2 separate regions of the Homo sapiens genome follow, and region 2 is linked to region 1. The links are contacts of gene promoters, found by promoter capture Hi-C in blood cells and fetal thymus (Javierre and others, 2016). All regions are on one chromosome and are shown on one strand. Each heading gives the region's core, a stretch centred on a gene start or on the middle of the fragment in contact. The rest is flanking DNA. Distances are from core to core; before and after follow the strand shown. Region 1 holds the start of SLC38A2 (solute carrier family 38 member 2). Region 2 overlaps RPAP3 (RNA polymerase II associated protein 3).

Evidence for each region. The method cuts DNA at HindIII sites, captures the fragments that hold promoters and counts their contacts. A CHiCAGO score of 5 or more calls a contact.
Region 2: a fragment that was not itself captured here is called in contact with the fragment with the promoter of SLC38A2 in region 1 in 1 of 17 cell types (naive CD4 T cells); the score reaches 5.8 in naive CD4 T cells.

Annotation. Positions count from the first base shown.
Region 1 is chr12:46,369,879-46,377,099 of GRCh38, reverse strand. SLC38A2 (solute carrier family 38 member 2) reads left to right here and starts at 4,327. Exons shown (of 16, transcript NM_018976.5): 1 at 4,327-4,591; 2 at 5,721-5,922; 3 at 6,243-6,324; 4 at 6,473-6,588. The coding sequence starts at 5,807. It overlaps SLC38A2-AS1 (SLC38A2 antisense RNA 1), which reads right to left and starts at 4,317. Exons shown (of 2, transcript NR_187299.1): 1 at 4,238-4,317; 2 at 3,322-3,787. RefSeq lists enhancers at 3,768-3,827, 4,508-4,587, 4,445-5,148, 4,838-5,167, 5,248-5,397 and silencers at 4,078-4,417, 4,618-4,817. The HindIII fragment of the contact is 15,961 bases long and covers 1-7,221 here.
Region 2 is chr12:47,679,376-47,686,596 of GRCh38, reverse strand. RPAP3 (RNA polymerase II associated protein 3) reads left to right here. Exons shown (of 17, transcript NM_024604.3): 10 at 4,780-4,901; 11 at 6,823-6,893; 12 at 7,003-7,104. Among named protein-coding and RNA genes, the nearest start is that of RPAP3, 23 kb to the left of the region's middle. The HindIII fragment of the contact is 2,548 bases long and covers 2,150-4,697 here.

The DNA.
Region 1 (7,221 bases), core at 3,078-5,577:
CTGGGCTTCAAAGGAAGGATATAATTTAAATATATAGTGGCAGGGAAGAGGAGGTATGAAGAACATTCCGAGTAGCAGAAATGGTTTAAATGGAAAACAGTTTATATTGAGAACACTGAGCAACATATATTGGCAAAAGCATAGGGTATATGAAGGGGAATATATTGGTTATCTATGGCTGAGTAATAAAATGTGCCAAAATGTAGTGGCTTAAAACAATAAACATTTGTTATCACTTGTTTCTGTGGGTCAGAAATCTGGGCTGAGCTTATCTGGTCCTCTGGCTAAGGTATTAGCTGGGACTACAGTCATCTCAAAGTTCAAATGGGTGGAATCTGCTTCCACACTTACTCATATGACTATTGGCAGGCCACAGGTTCTACCTGGTAGTTGCCAGAAACACCCATTCCTTGACATGTGGGCCTCTCCATAGGACAGCTCGCAAGATGGCAGCTTGTTTCCTTCAAAGCAGATGAAGGAGTGAACCAGAGAAAGTGAACAAGAGAACAAGATAGAAGCCACAGTCCTTTTTTTTCTTTTTTTTTTGAAGGAGTTTCGCTCTTGTTGCCCAGGCTGGAGTGAAATGGCGTGAACTCGGCTCACCGCAATCTCCGCCTCCCAGGTTCGAGCCATTTTCCTGCCTCAGCCTCCCGAGTAGCTGGGATTACAGGCATGCACCACCATGCCCAGCTAATTTTTGTATTTTTAGTAGAGACGGGATTTCGTCATGTTGGTCAGGCTGGTCTCAAGCTCCTGACCTCAGGTGATCCACCCTCTTCGGCCTCCCAAATTGCTGGGATTACAGGCATGAGCCACCACGCCCAGTCTGTCTTTTTGTAACCTAGCCTCAGAAGTGACATGCCATCACTTTTGCCACATAGAAGTGCATCACTAGGTCCAGCCCATATTCAAGGAGAGGGGATTACAAATATGTATGAATACCAGCAGGTGGTGATTTATTGGGGCCTATCCTAGAAGCTGCCTACCACAAGGAATAATGGGAAATAAGATTGGAAATATGGGCTGGGACAGATAAAAGAAAGCCATAGAAGCTAATCTGCGAATGAAACTATACAGTTGGAAATGGAGGGTAGAGAAAAGCAAATTTTATGTGTAAGCCCACTTTTGGCAAATTGTAGTGCTGGATAAATAGAATTTTGAGGGTCATCTTAAAAACCAGTTGTTTAACAACAAGTAGAAAATGTCAACCAATGACAGCTTCCAGGAAACAGAACCACTCTATTTTATCAGGAAATAATGGTCAAAAAATTGTACAGAACATAGCTACCTACCTTCAATAAATAGTTCTAACAATCTATCCTGACAATGCATTCCTGAAAATCCAGAATTGATAACTGATTTTTGTGACAGTTTTTCTGTCTTAGGATAGGAAATAAGATTCAATTTCAGTAGCTTTCAAAATTCTTTGACCCCCCCCCAAACCACAGCAAGACATACATTTTACATCAGCAGTCCCCAACCTTTTGGCACCAGGGACCAGTCTTGTGGAAGACAATTTTTCCACAAAAAAATTGGGGGAGATGGTTTCAGGATGAAACTGTCCTACCTCAGATTGTCAGGCATTAGTTAGATTCTCATAAGAAGTATGCAACCTAGATCCCTCACATGTGCAGTTCACAATAGGGTTCGTGCCCCTATGAGAATCTAATGCCACCACTGATCAGGCCAAATGCTGGCTGAACTGCCACTCACCTCCTGCTGTGCAGCCCAGTTCCTAACAGGCTTCAGACTGGTACCAGTCTGCTGCCCAGGGGTTGGGGACCCCTGTTTTACATCACAACTCATAATACACACACACATATATATACAGACACACATAATCACATATATGTATACATATGTATACATATATACACACATATATATACACATAATCAAGATAAAAGATTTACAGAATAATAGTACATATGGCATACTGATTTTTTAAAAAAAATTATTCTATTCTACTGCATTGAAGAAAATAGAAAGCTAGTACTAATCCACTGAATTCATCACTATCCACCACTTGGTCCCATTCTGAAAGTTTAAAAAATGCTGCTCTTCTAGAACATTAGCTTAGAAATCAAACAAAATTATAGCGCACTGACCAATAGGTATTTGGCAATATCGTTTCCCAGAAATTGAATGAGGACACTGTGTCCAATGCATTCAAGCCCAAAGCATAACAGCAATTGCTCAGAGCACATCAGGCCTCAGTTGGAAGTCTGATGGAGTTAGCAGGCATGCCTCAGTTTGGCCCTCGAAAAGACCAATCAAACTGGCAATAAAAACATGGAAGTTTCACCCCTCCACCCTTCTTTTTTTGTCATTTACTGTTCAAGTTCTGATCATACAGAGACCAGATCAATATTGCAGCTCCCCCCCCCGCCCCTGCCCTCCACTTTGCCCTCAGCTGTACAGGTATTGTGCTTCTCCTAAATATGTGTTGCAATACAAACCACCAAAAAGTCCAAAAGACATGAGATTTACTTATAGTGCCACTTGCCACCCATAACTACCAACCCTGAGGGCCTCCTTAGCACCTCTAACTGGGCAGAGGAAACGACCAGAGATTCATCTGGAATGAAAAAGTGGTTTAAGACCTTTTGATTGTTATCAGTTGAAACCTAATATAAAGAAACTTCCTGGGACTCCTCTCTAACCTACCACTACCAAGATTGTTGTGACAAGAAGAGTTGATTGATTTTATTGGGGAATGTATGTGGAAGGAAGATAGTTTTTTCAGCCCTAATTGTGTGTCAAATTCCAAACCTGCCCTTGGGGAGTTCACAATCTTTGGGCAGATGATACTACAAATAGTCTGGAACGATTTTGAGTGCATGACAGCACGGATTTTTAAAAGTCCGTCACCATATTGTTTTAGAAAATAGTACCTGCAAAAAGAGGGCTGAGTACGGAGGGATTAAGGCATGCGGGGCGCTTTCCTGTGGCTCGAAGACTAAGCCTTGCATGACAGCGGCATTTAAGGGGATGAGAGGAGATTGGACACCAAAGCAAGAATGGCTATTATTTAAGACTGGCCTGAACAGAGTAGAAGGTTTGCGGTAGGGAAGACTGGCCTGAACAGAGTAGAAGGTTTGGGGTAGGGAACACAGGAGTGTGATGGGGGAAATCGGGACCTCGCTTGTCAATCATAAACACTGGTGCAGGCGAGGGCACCCGAAGCCTCACGTGCGGCGGAAATAGGCAGTTGTACGGATTTCCTCAGTAAAACATTGAAAGCAAAAACTGCGATCACACCCAGCCCTTTCCTCTATGCCCTGCCCAATTTCTCCCAAGTCCCCAAAAGGAAGAGAGCAGTAGGTCAAACTTGTTTATTCATTCATTCCATGAACATTTCTCTCTCCTAAGGGGTCTTTGTTTCCTGCAAGGGAGTGAGTCTTGCCTTTCCCGCAGCACCAATTTTTCCACAGCGAAGGGTCCCCCTAGTTGCCTGGCTCAGCAAGACCACACACATCACCATTGAAGGGAAAGGACCAGGCTCCGCAGAAAGCGCCTCAGACCCGCATTCAGACAAGGCAGTGCCTTTGCCCGGGGCGGCGGTGGTGGGATAAGAGAAGCAACGTGTCAGCGAGTGGAAAACTGGGGACTCCCAAACGGCCTTAGGAGCGCCGGGCTCCCCACTGGGGCCTCTTTCTAAGGGGCCTGGCTTGCTGGCCAAAAGGTAGCCTTTCCGCTAGTCCAGTTTCCATGGCCGTACAAAAAGCACATCCCGAAAAGGAGCTGCTCGCCGACCTCCGGCTAGTTTTGAAGAGTGAAAGCAGGTCTAGGTGGAAAAGAAAGAACAACAAACCATCAGGACAACCTTGCTGCCTTGGCCCAAGTTTGTGAGACAAAACTTCACTGTAAATCACAAAAATAACAATCAAGAAAGTGTTTGGTGGGAGGGTGGTGTCCCCCAAAAGCCTTGATGTGTCCCCCGAAAGCAAGGACTGCTGGTGACTCGGACAGGAGAAAATTTTAAGGAGATGGCTCCTCAAAGACAACCGCATGTGTTGAGCACCAACCCTGGCTGAAAAGGATAGGCAGGGGAAGCATCTGGGGGTCTTTCCAGACTATCTAGAAAGCTGGAGAGAGTGGGCTTGGGCTTTGCGGGAGAGTCTTGGGGGCGCCTGCGGGCGGGGCTGGGCCGCGGGCGCGGGCCGCAGAGGGAGGGGCAGGGAGGCGGGGCCTAGGTCTGGGCGGGTCGGAGGCGGGGCCCAGGTGGTGTTGATACACAAAGAGAAGGCGCCCGGGCGGCCGCGGTCCCGCCCACTGACGCGTCCCCGGGGTGCCGCTATAACCCGCCGCTCGCAGGGCTGCTCCACAGCCGCGCGACGCCGCCGCCTTAGAACGCCTTTCCAGTACTGCTAGCAGCAGCCCGACCACGCGTTACCGCACGCTCGCGCCTTTCCCTTGACACGGCGGACGCCGGAGGATTGGGGCGGCAATTTGTCTTTTCCTTTTTTATTAAAATTATTTTTCCTGCCTGTTGTTGGATTTGGGGAAATTTTTTGTTTGTTTTTTATGATTTGTATTTGACTGAGAGAAACCCACTGAAGACGTCTGCGTGAGAATAGAGACCACCGAGGTAACGCGTGCGGGGGGGCGTCTGTGGGAAGGGCGCGGGGCCCGGGCGAGAGTGGGGGAGGGGCTTCCGGGAGGGGCCGCGCGGGAAGGCGGCCGCGGGGTCCGTTTCCTTTCGAGGCGGGCGTTGTCGGTTGGGCTGGCCAGCCTTCCACCCTGGCCCGCCGCGCGGGTGTCGCGCCCGCGACGTGGGTAGGAGAGCGGGCGCTGGGCGGGGGCCGCGTGCCTGCACGGTGCGGAGCCGCATCTTCCCATTAGGGGGAGGGGAGCTAGCCCGGCCAGCGGCTCTGCTGCGGCAAGTCTTGTGACTGATTTGCATTTAATAAAAAAAAAAAATTAAGTCCAGGGAGCCAGGAATCTGGGGGCGGCGGAGGTGGGCTTGGGCATGTATTACAGGAGAGGCCAAGATTGGGGAAGACGAGTTGGGAACATTTGACAATCGACGATCGATATTGCATCAGTTTTCTTTCCGGACATAGGAGGGGCTGGGCGGGCGTAGCACTCGCGGGCCAGCTGCCTGTGGACGGGTGTGCTTGAGGGCACTGGCGCGCGTGTGTAAACAAACCCCCAGCTCCCGGGGCCCGGGCGTTCGCCCCCCTCGAGAGAGGAGTAGTGTCGGCCCTTTCCGCCTCCTGGGGAAGGCTGTCTGCGGCAGAGGCATTTCTCCGTGTGGGGACTCCGGGCAGTAAAGGACAGATTACGCAGCATTGCTGTTCCAAATGCTAGAAACGGAAAGCCGTGCGCCTAGGTTGCATGCACACGAGCCAGGGTCGGGGCTGGATGTGTGCCCTGAGTGCCTGTGCAAGTTTGGAGCGACTGGGAAAAAGCAAAACAGAACCCCCCCTCGCCCCCTCCACTCCGACGAGGGACAATAGAGAGGGTGAAATACTGAAATCTGCCGGAGTAGGGGGCCTCGACGGCCGCAACACAGCGGTGGCATCATCTTTGTTCTCCCCGCGGCTCCGCCGTCTGTACTTTTCCGCCCCTCGGCGCGCCCCCGCCCCTCGCGCGCGGCTGGTACTTTTCCACTCGCCTGGCCTGGGATGAATCAGCCGCGCTGCGCCTCCGGGCGGCGTCACGTGACCGCGGCGGGCTGGCGCTGCGGTCCTGACGCGCCGCCTCTACTTTCGCAGGCCGACTCGCGGGCCGCTGCACCCACCGCCAAGGACAAAAGGAGCCCAGCGCTACTAGCTGCACCCGATTCCTCCCAGTGCTTAGCATGAAGAAGGCCGAAATGGGACGATTCAGTATTTCCCCGGATGAAGACAGCAGCAGCTACAGTTCCAACAGCGACTTCAACTACTCCTACCCCACCAAGCAAGCTGCTCTGAAAAGGTGGGAGAAGTTGTGACACTTTTGAAAAAACGGCTTGCATGGGTTGGGTTCAGGGAGTTACCTAGGACTCTGCTTCCATTGCTTTAATTTGCTATAGCATTTAGAGAAGGTGCGTAATCTCTGAAAGAGTATCCGATTATCTTGTTGTAATGACAAGATAGCTGGTGTGAAAGTCAACTCCTAGTTAATATTTATACATTAAGTAAAGATGTTGTATCAGAGCTATGCTGTTGGAGGGTATTTTATGTTAAAGCAGTCTTGTGTGTAATGATAGATATTTCAATCCAGTTTACAATTATATATGTCTATATTTTTTGCAGCCATTATGCAGATGTAGATCCTGAAAACCAGAACTTTTTACTTGAATCGAATTTGGGGAAGAAGAAGTATGAAACAGAATTTGTAAGTTAAAAATAGTAATTTGTCTGTCAGTGGCTTTATGGAGTAAAAGAATAGTTTTACTTTTAGAATTCAAATCTAACTTGCCCAAAGCTGGTTTTCTCCATTTAATTATTGTTATATGTTTGGTTATCGTTTTCCCTCTATGTAGCATCCAGGTACTACTTCCTTTGGAATGTCAGTATTTAATCTGAGCAATGCGATTGTGGGCAGTGGAATCCTTGGGCTTTCTTATGCCATGGCTAATACTGGAATTGCTCTTTTTATGTAAGTATGTGTAAGTAGTGAGTCTGCCATGCAGGGCAGTTACTATGGTAAAACATATTTTGGCTCCAGAAACTGAATTTACAGTTGGAGTAGCTGACTCAAAAGTTACTTGCTTAAAATTAAAAGTATGAGAAACCCCAAAAAATCTCTTTATTCTACTACATACTGCACAATATCAAGAAAGCCAACTAGAAAAAAATAGGGCAGTCCTTAAAACTGACAAATTAAGCCAGAAGTCTTCTAAGTCAGTGGGAATAGTTAAAACAAAATTGTAACAGATGGTAGATATTAAAAAAACTATGGCTAAAGCCAGGGTAGGTATAAATTTTGTTTTGGCAAATCAGAAGCTGAAAATCCTAATAAGCTCCAAATCATTTTGGTAAATCGACACAGTTCTTAAGGACCTGTGGCCCCTTACGTGAATAAGGAAAAGAAAATTTCTCTAAACATACAAGGTGTGGTGGTATTTACCCAGCCTGGAACATGTTTGTTTTAAGACGAGGAGGTCATAATTTTCTGGACCCTGAAAAGCAATCCATACATGTTTTTTTAATGTTTGCTTTTGTCAGACCTGTTCGATTGCCACATGTTGTGGCAAAAAATGAATACTTTAGTAAGTACTTATTTTTAAAT
Region 2 (7,221 bases), core at 2,174-4,673, 1.3 Mb before region 1:
AAATGAGAGGGGAAAAGTAGTGTGTGTGTGTGTGTGTGTGTGTGTGTGTGTATGTGTATGTGTGTGTTTATGTACCTGTGGTATACATAGTTCCAGGCACAAGGTGTGTATTCAGTAGATGTTCTTGTTAATATTTTCCCGCTTTTAAGTCTGGCATTACACAGTTTACCAGTTTTTCTCTAGTCGCTTTATGTATAGTATTCTGGATCTTGATTAAAAATTATTTTTCACTTCAGAGCCCCTTGGGCAAAGTCTTATCTGGAAATGTTTTATATACATACATGTATAACAAAAGAGAACTGCTGTCATTGAAACTGCTGATTAATAACATATGTAACAAACATTTGATCCTATATTAACCAGCTTTTTCTGGTTGTGCCCAAGTTGGACAATCAGTAGAATTATATCCGATGGCAGAAACTTAGACTTAGACTTTGTTTCTCTTGTTATACTTTACAGACTAATGCCAGAATTTTAAAAAGCCTGTAAATAGTATAAATAGGAATTCGAAACTTCTTCAGTGCCATGAATTCCCCTTTAGCTGTATGTTGAACGCTTCTCAGGATATTTTTAAATGCTTAACTGTACAACTAGGATTACAAAGGAAACCAATTATATCAAAATATAGTTTTGAAAATATTAAAAATTGTGATATAGTAGTATATTTGATTTTTTATTAACACACCTCAAAATGAGAAATTACATTTAAAATACAGGCAAGTGCTGTATTTTATGCTCACCAATATTCAGAATTACAGTACAAATTTAACCTGCTGCTTATTTGCATGTGATTGTACTGTATTTGAAACTACATTTAAAATACAGACAAGTTAATGTTAAAAAAATTTTAAAGACATGATTGTAAGGTTTCAGTAAGGACACCAAATTTTGGGATGATCCTCGACACATCTTCCACGTACTGATCAACAAGCAAGTGTGGATAGGGAATACCTGAAGCAACGTAGATGATTAGATTTCCAATGTGATAACACATGCCTTAGCTCTTTGTCTTCTGAATAACTACTAGGGCAGAGTTGCCCAACAGTTGCCAGCCTTGTCACAAGAGTATCTATAAACCAGACACTGCAATCACATGCAAATAAGCAACAGGTTAAATTTTTACTGTAATTCTGAATAGTGGTGAGCATAAGCAATATTTTGAGATACCAGTAACCGTTATAATGTGATATGGAAATATCTGATTTTTTTTTTTTTTTTGAGACAGAGTCCCCCTCTGTCACCCAGGCTGGAGTGCAGTGGTGTAATTTTGGCTCACTGCAACCTCCACCTCCCAGGTTCAAGCAATTCTCCTGCCTCAACCTCCCAAGTTGCTGGGTCTACAGGCATGCGCCATGACACCTAGCTAATTTTTGTATTTTTAGTAGAGATGGGGTTTTGCCATGTTGGCCAGGCTGGTCTCAAACTCCTGACCTCAGGTGATCTGCCCGTCTCGGCCTCCCAGAGTGCTGGGATTACAGGCAGGAGCCACCGCGCCCGGCCAAAATATCTGATTTTTATTGGTGACAAAGTGATAGATACTATTGTCTGCATTTGTATTTGAAAGATAGCTAAATTTTATTTGAAGTTTAGTGAAAACAGTGATACAGTTTTTTTCCTAAACAAGTTTCCACATCCCTCAGACAATCTCAGGTTAGGAGCTCCTGTCATAGAAATAAATTCTGATTATATATTTAACCTCATTTAAAGTAATAGATATCACTGGAGATAGATTCTTTTGTTGACTAGTCAGAGTGAAGATCATTGCATCTCTTGCTCACTTATGAAAATTTTGATTTTTGCTATCGAAGAATTGTGCATTGGTTTAAAAATTGTAAAGCCTGAGTTCGTTGGTTTGACTAATGCTAAGAGTAATGCCTTCTTACAGGTGAGAGATTATATATGCATTTATAAGATATCTAATTTATTGTATCAGTTTTATTTCTTTAGTTTATAATCGTATTAGTGGAATATATTATACCAAGTTAGCAGAGTATATTTTAAATTAAAAGAACTTATGACTCTTACTTGTATCTTTTCCTAGTGTATCTTTTAGATTCACAGTTAATATCAGAATTTTTTTCTGTACATGGAGACTGTTGTTATGTATTACGGACTATGTGAGGAACATAAAAAAGCAACATTTCAAGCTTAGACTACTCCTAGTTTAGGTAACCATCCTATAGCTTGAGGTTCTATAAACTGTGTCAAATTAGAGCTAATTAGAACCAGCAGTATAGTCAGTCTTACCTACCAGTGTGCGGGGTAGCAGTAGGGAGTAAGAAGAAATTCACCTAGTTAGGCCAACCGGGATTCCTAGAGAATGTGCTTTCTGGAGGTGATAGTCTAAATTAGTAGTTTGCATTGGGAGATGAGCAAGACATCCTTGAGTTACAATAATGGAGTGCCTGTGAGCTGGCAAATTGTGGAATGTAGGCTGGTAGATGGTTAGCTTCAGAAAGGCTGAAGAAATAAGAAGATAATCAGAAATAAGGACAGAAGTTTGGGCCAACATTGTAGTCCTTGAAGAGGACTGACCAAGAACAAATCTGAGTCCTATTCTTAGAGGGAGTAAAGCATAGATTTAGAGATAGGATAAGAAGAAAATAACCCAGTAGTATTAGATATTAGATTTGGGAAACAGGGTTGAGAGTTGGTCACAAAAATAAGGTAGAATCTTGGTTGCTGGAACTGGAACCAGACTAAGACTTGATTTAGTAGAGGGTGGTTCACTTAATGGTGATTAGGGGCGGCATTTACACTAGAGCCAGAGTAGACCTAGGGCAAGTGGACCTGACTGAAAATCAGAAGGAATCAGGGCTAAGGAGCTAGGCAGAGATGATAGTTTTTCGCACTCACCATTTTTATTCTATTTTTGATTAGTTTGTCTTTTTCTCCAACCACCTAAAAGATGTTTGTTGATTGGATTTTTCTAAATTCACTTTACAAATGGAGTGCACAGGAGACGTGTAATAATTTTAAAGGACTTAGGTGAGTCTATTTTCAAAGAATAATCGTCTACCTCTGTGGCAACTTCAGACTTTTAGAAAAATTGTTGGGTTTTCTTCAGCTGTACAGTAGAACATGCAATTAAATATGCAATTAAATATACAATTAAAATGATTTCCTAAACATTTATATTCTAAATTTTCTTTGAATTTGGGTGTTGGAAATTTTTTGATTTACTTATTCAGCAAATATTTATTGTGCTAAAATGTATCAGGTGTTCTGTGAGGCACTGTGGAAGGTATTAAGTATACAAATATTAAATGTATAGTTGTTTTTAAGAAACCCGAAATTTGCAGGGAGTGACAGAAAAGGAGACCAATATTTGTGAAAATACGCTAAGATAGCGCTATGAAGGACACGTGCTATAGGAGTTCAGAGTGGGAAGAATACTGGCATAGACTGAGTCCAGGCAGGGGAATTCCTGGAAAGCATCTTGAAATTGTTTAGGAGTAGTATGAGTTAGTGAGGTGAAAAAACAGGAAACAGGTCAAGTGTTCTAGTGCAGGTTCAAAGACGTGGGAGTAGGCAGGTTGATGGTACCTCAACCTGGAAAGGGTGAGTGGTTCGTATTATGGCTGTTATTGCAGGGGACAGTGGCAGAGAGAAGGCCAGATACTCAGGCAGGCCCCTGACTTTGCGCTCCAAAGGAATTGGACTTTATCTTGAAAAGTATGGGGGCCATGCAGGTATCTTGAATGATATAATCAGGCAAGTAGAAAATAACATTGATAAGGGCATGAACACAGATATATTCTTTATCTCTTGCTGGAAAGTGAGTTAAATAAATCAGAGATGTTTAAGTTCATTCGAAATTCTGATTTTTTTCATATGAGATTTTGTTTTGAGGGCAAGATGACATCCATTTAGGCCTTGGGGAGAATGCAATTACAGGAGTGTTTTTTTTTTTTTTAATATTCTTATGAAACTTTTCAAACTTATACAAAAGTAGTATAATAAACTCCATGTGTCCATCATCTAGTTCTAACAAGCCATACTTTTTTTGGTCATATTTGTTTCAGCATTTTCCCCCCGAATTATTGTAAAGCAAATCATAAACATTATGACGTTTATTGCTAAAGAAAGGATATTTTATACATAACCACAACCATTAGCACTCCTAAGAAATTAACAATAATTCATTAATGTCCTATTAATATATGGGAATGTCTGAAGTTTTTTTGTTATTGGGTTTTTTTGGTGGAGGGGGTTGAGCTCTTCTTAAGCACCTTGTTGTTGTAGAGCAGTAATGAGTAAGTCTGTAAGTCTGAATTGATTGCTGGTTGCATGGCTGAGTAGAATTTATGCAAAGTATTAGATGATATGCTATCACATTCGTACCAAGTTCTCATTTTTTTGTTTTTCTATGAGTATGGGAGGTTTACTGTGGGTAAATGTTAATAAAGTTTTATTAGAAAACTAATGCCAGTCAAAATTCTAATGTAATACCTGTGCATATTGAGACTTGGAGAAGAGGTAGGCAGAGAAGCAGTGGCATTCTTTTGTCTGCCCTAGTCATATTTTTGCATTATTATTTCATCGCTCCAGCAGACTCTCCTAACATTCCCTCAATCTGGTACCTTCTCCCTCCTCACCAAATGATTCCAGGATTTGGTGAGAATAAAAAATTTATAAAATAGTTCTCCACTTCAAACACAGATTTAGAAGTTAGTGATTGAAATTATATACAAGCTTTTTAAATTAGAAACTTAGTTTATATGACATTTTTCCATAAGCTGCCTTTTTTCCAGTCAGTAATTTTATCATGTTCAATAGATATGAAGAAGCTGAAAAAGACTGCACACAAGCCATTTTATTAGATGGCTCATATTCTAAAGCTTTTGCCAGAAGAGGAACTGCAAGAACATTTTTGGGAAAGCTAAATGAGGCAAAACAAGGTAAGACTTTATAACAGCTGGCACTCAGTCATCCTGATGAGTGCCCAAGTTAAAGAAGCAGAGATTCATGTAGCTTACCCATGGTTCAAAGATACTGAACTTAGGGAATTATGTTTTCTTTCCACAGTTTAGATCACGAATAGATTTGGAGGAATGCAGCTTCCGCAATGTACCAGATTATCTTTTTGTTTAGTAGCATTCTGGCTAATTTTGTTTAGTACATTCTGGCTAATTGCCAGTCAATATTAATGAAAAATTTTAATTATACATGAGAATGGAAAACGATAAAAAGACCAGAATGGAAAGGAAGGGAATCGGTGTTGTTGAGCGAAAGGGACTCACTGTGTGATATGCTTGAAGCCAATACTGTGACATCAGGTTTTTGAGAAAAGGCTTTATTTATATTGAAAGTTGACTCCTAAAGAGACAGGAATCAAACCCAAATCTGTCTCCTTGTCCTGGCCTTAAGGCAGTAATTTTATTAGAAAGGGTTTAGGGAGGTGGATACTGGAATTAGCAGGTAATTAGTGGAAGGAAAGGGAAAAGTTCTTGGGCATATGTAGCTATCTCTTCTTGCTAACTAATGGGATTGCAGGTGCAAATTTGGGGTAGTTAGTAGAACTTGGTGGAAATTCAGTTTGTGACATCAGCAAACTCGTTTTTGTGCAAACTCCACTTGGCCATCTTGGTTCCAAATGATTTCAGCCTGTTTTTTTTTTTTTGTTTCGTTTTTTTGTTTTTTTTTGAATCCCAGTAAGCAGAGGAAGTTTCTTTGTTTCAGCAAGTTGTATCTTTTCCTATCTGCCATCCTACAAACTGAAGAATTTCTGTTAGTGATTGATTTTTTTTTTTTAAAAAACTCTTCGGGCTGTGGTTTTATCAGCAGGTAGGGAATGGAGGATAATGGAGATCTGATACCATTTTAATTCTTGATACTATTTTTTTTCTTTGTTTTTATGGTCTTCTCTTTTAGGGTATTCATTGAATTAGTCTTTTCAGAGAACCAACTTGGTTCTCCTGTGTGTGTTTTCTATTTAATTTCCTTCTGCTTTTTATTTTATTCCTTCAACTTTCTTTTGGTTTAATTTGCTGTTTTTCTAGCTTCTTGAGATCAGTACTTAGATAATTGATTTTCAGCCTCTGTTCTTTCCTGGTATGTGCATTTAAAATCTGGCAGTTTCTCTATAAGCCTGTTAGCTACAGCAGTGTTTTTTTTATTGTGGTTAAAAAAAATATGTAACGTTAAATTTATTATTTTAACCATTTTTCAATATATAGCTCAGTGGCATTAAATACATTTACATTGTGCAGCCATCACCACTGTCCATCACCAGAACTTTGTCATCATCCCATTCTAAAACTCTATACACATTAAACAATAACTCTCCATTCTCCTCTCCTCCCAGCCCTAGTAACCTCCATTCTACTTTCTGTCTCTGAATTTGACTGTTCTAGATATCCTATGTAAGTGGAATCATGCAGTATTTGTCCTTTTGCCTCTGCTTATTTAACTTAGCATAATGTCCATGTTGGAGCATATATCAGAATTTCATTCCTTTTTAAGGCTGAGTAATACTTTGTTGTATGTAATTCTCTTATTCTATTAATATTTTACATTTAGTGAGTTACTCTGTCATTTGTTTACATGGTGAACTTTGCTAAGTTAGATGACCTCTAGGGGCCTCAGTTTTATCACCTTTAAAGTGGGGTTGTAGTGAGGGTTACGTGAACATTCATATAAAACAACTACAACAGTGTTCAGTAAATGTTCTTACTATAGCTCACCTGTTTCCTAGTAATCTGAGTAAAACTGCTTGAGCTAAAAATGTGATTACTAACTGAATATATCATGAATATACATGCGAATATGAAAACTCCACATTTTAACTATGTTGTAATGTTTTTAAAAAATTCGCTTTAGATTTTGAAACTGTTTTACTTCTGGAACCTGGAAATAAGCAAGCAGTAACTGAACTCTCCAAAATTAAAAAGGTAATGTATTCTTTTCACCCAAACATGGTCATATTTTCTGAAACATAAATATATTTATTTGTTGTATAATAAATATTTTGAAAGTTAGGGTTATAAATTTATTTTCAAGGAATTAATTGAGAAAGGACACTGGGATGATGTCTTTCTTGATTCCACACAAAGACAAAATGTGGTAAAACCCATTGATAATCCACCGCATCCTGGATCAACTGTAAGTAAAGCACTTTCATTTTTTCCTTGCCATTTAAATATGTTGTAATAGGAGAATTGGAAACCAACTATTGTATTAATAAACTTTTTTTTTTTAATTATACTTTAAGTTCTAGGG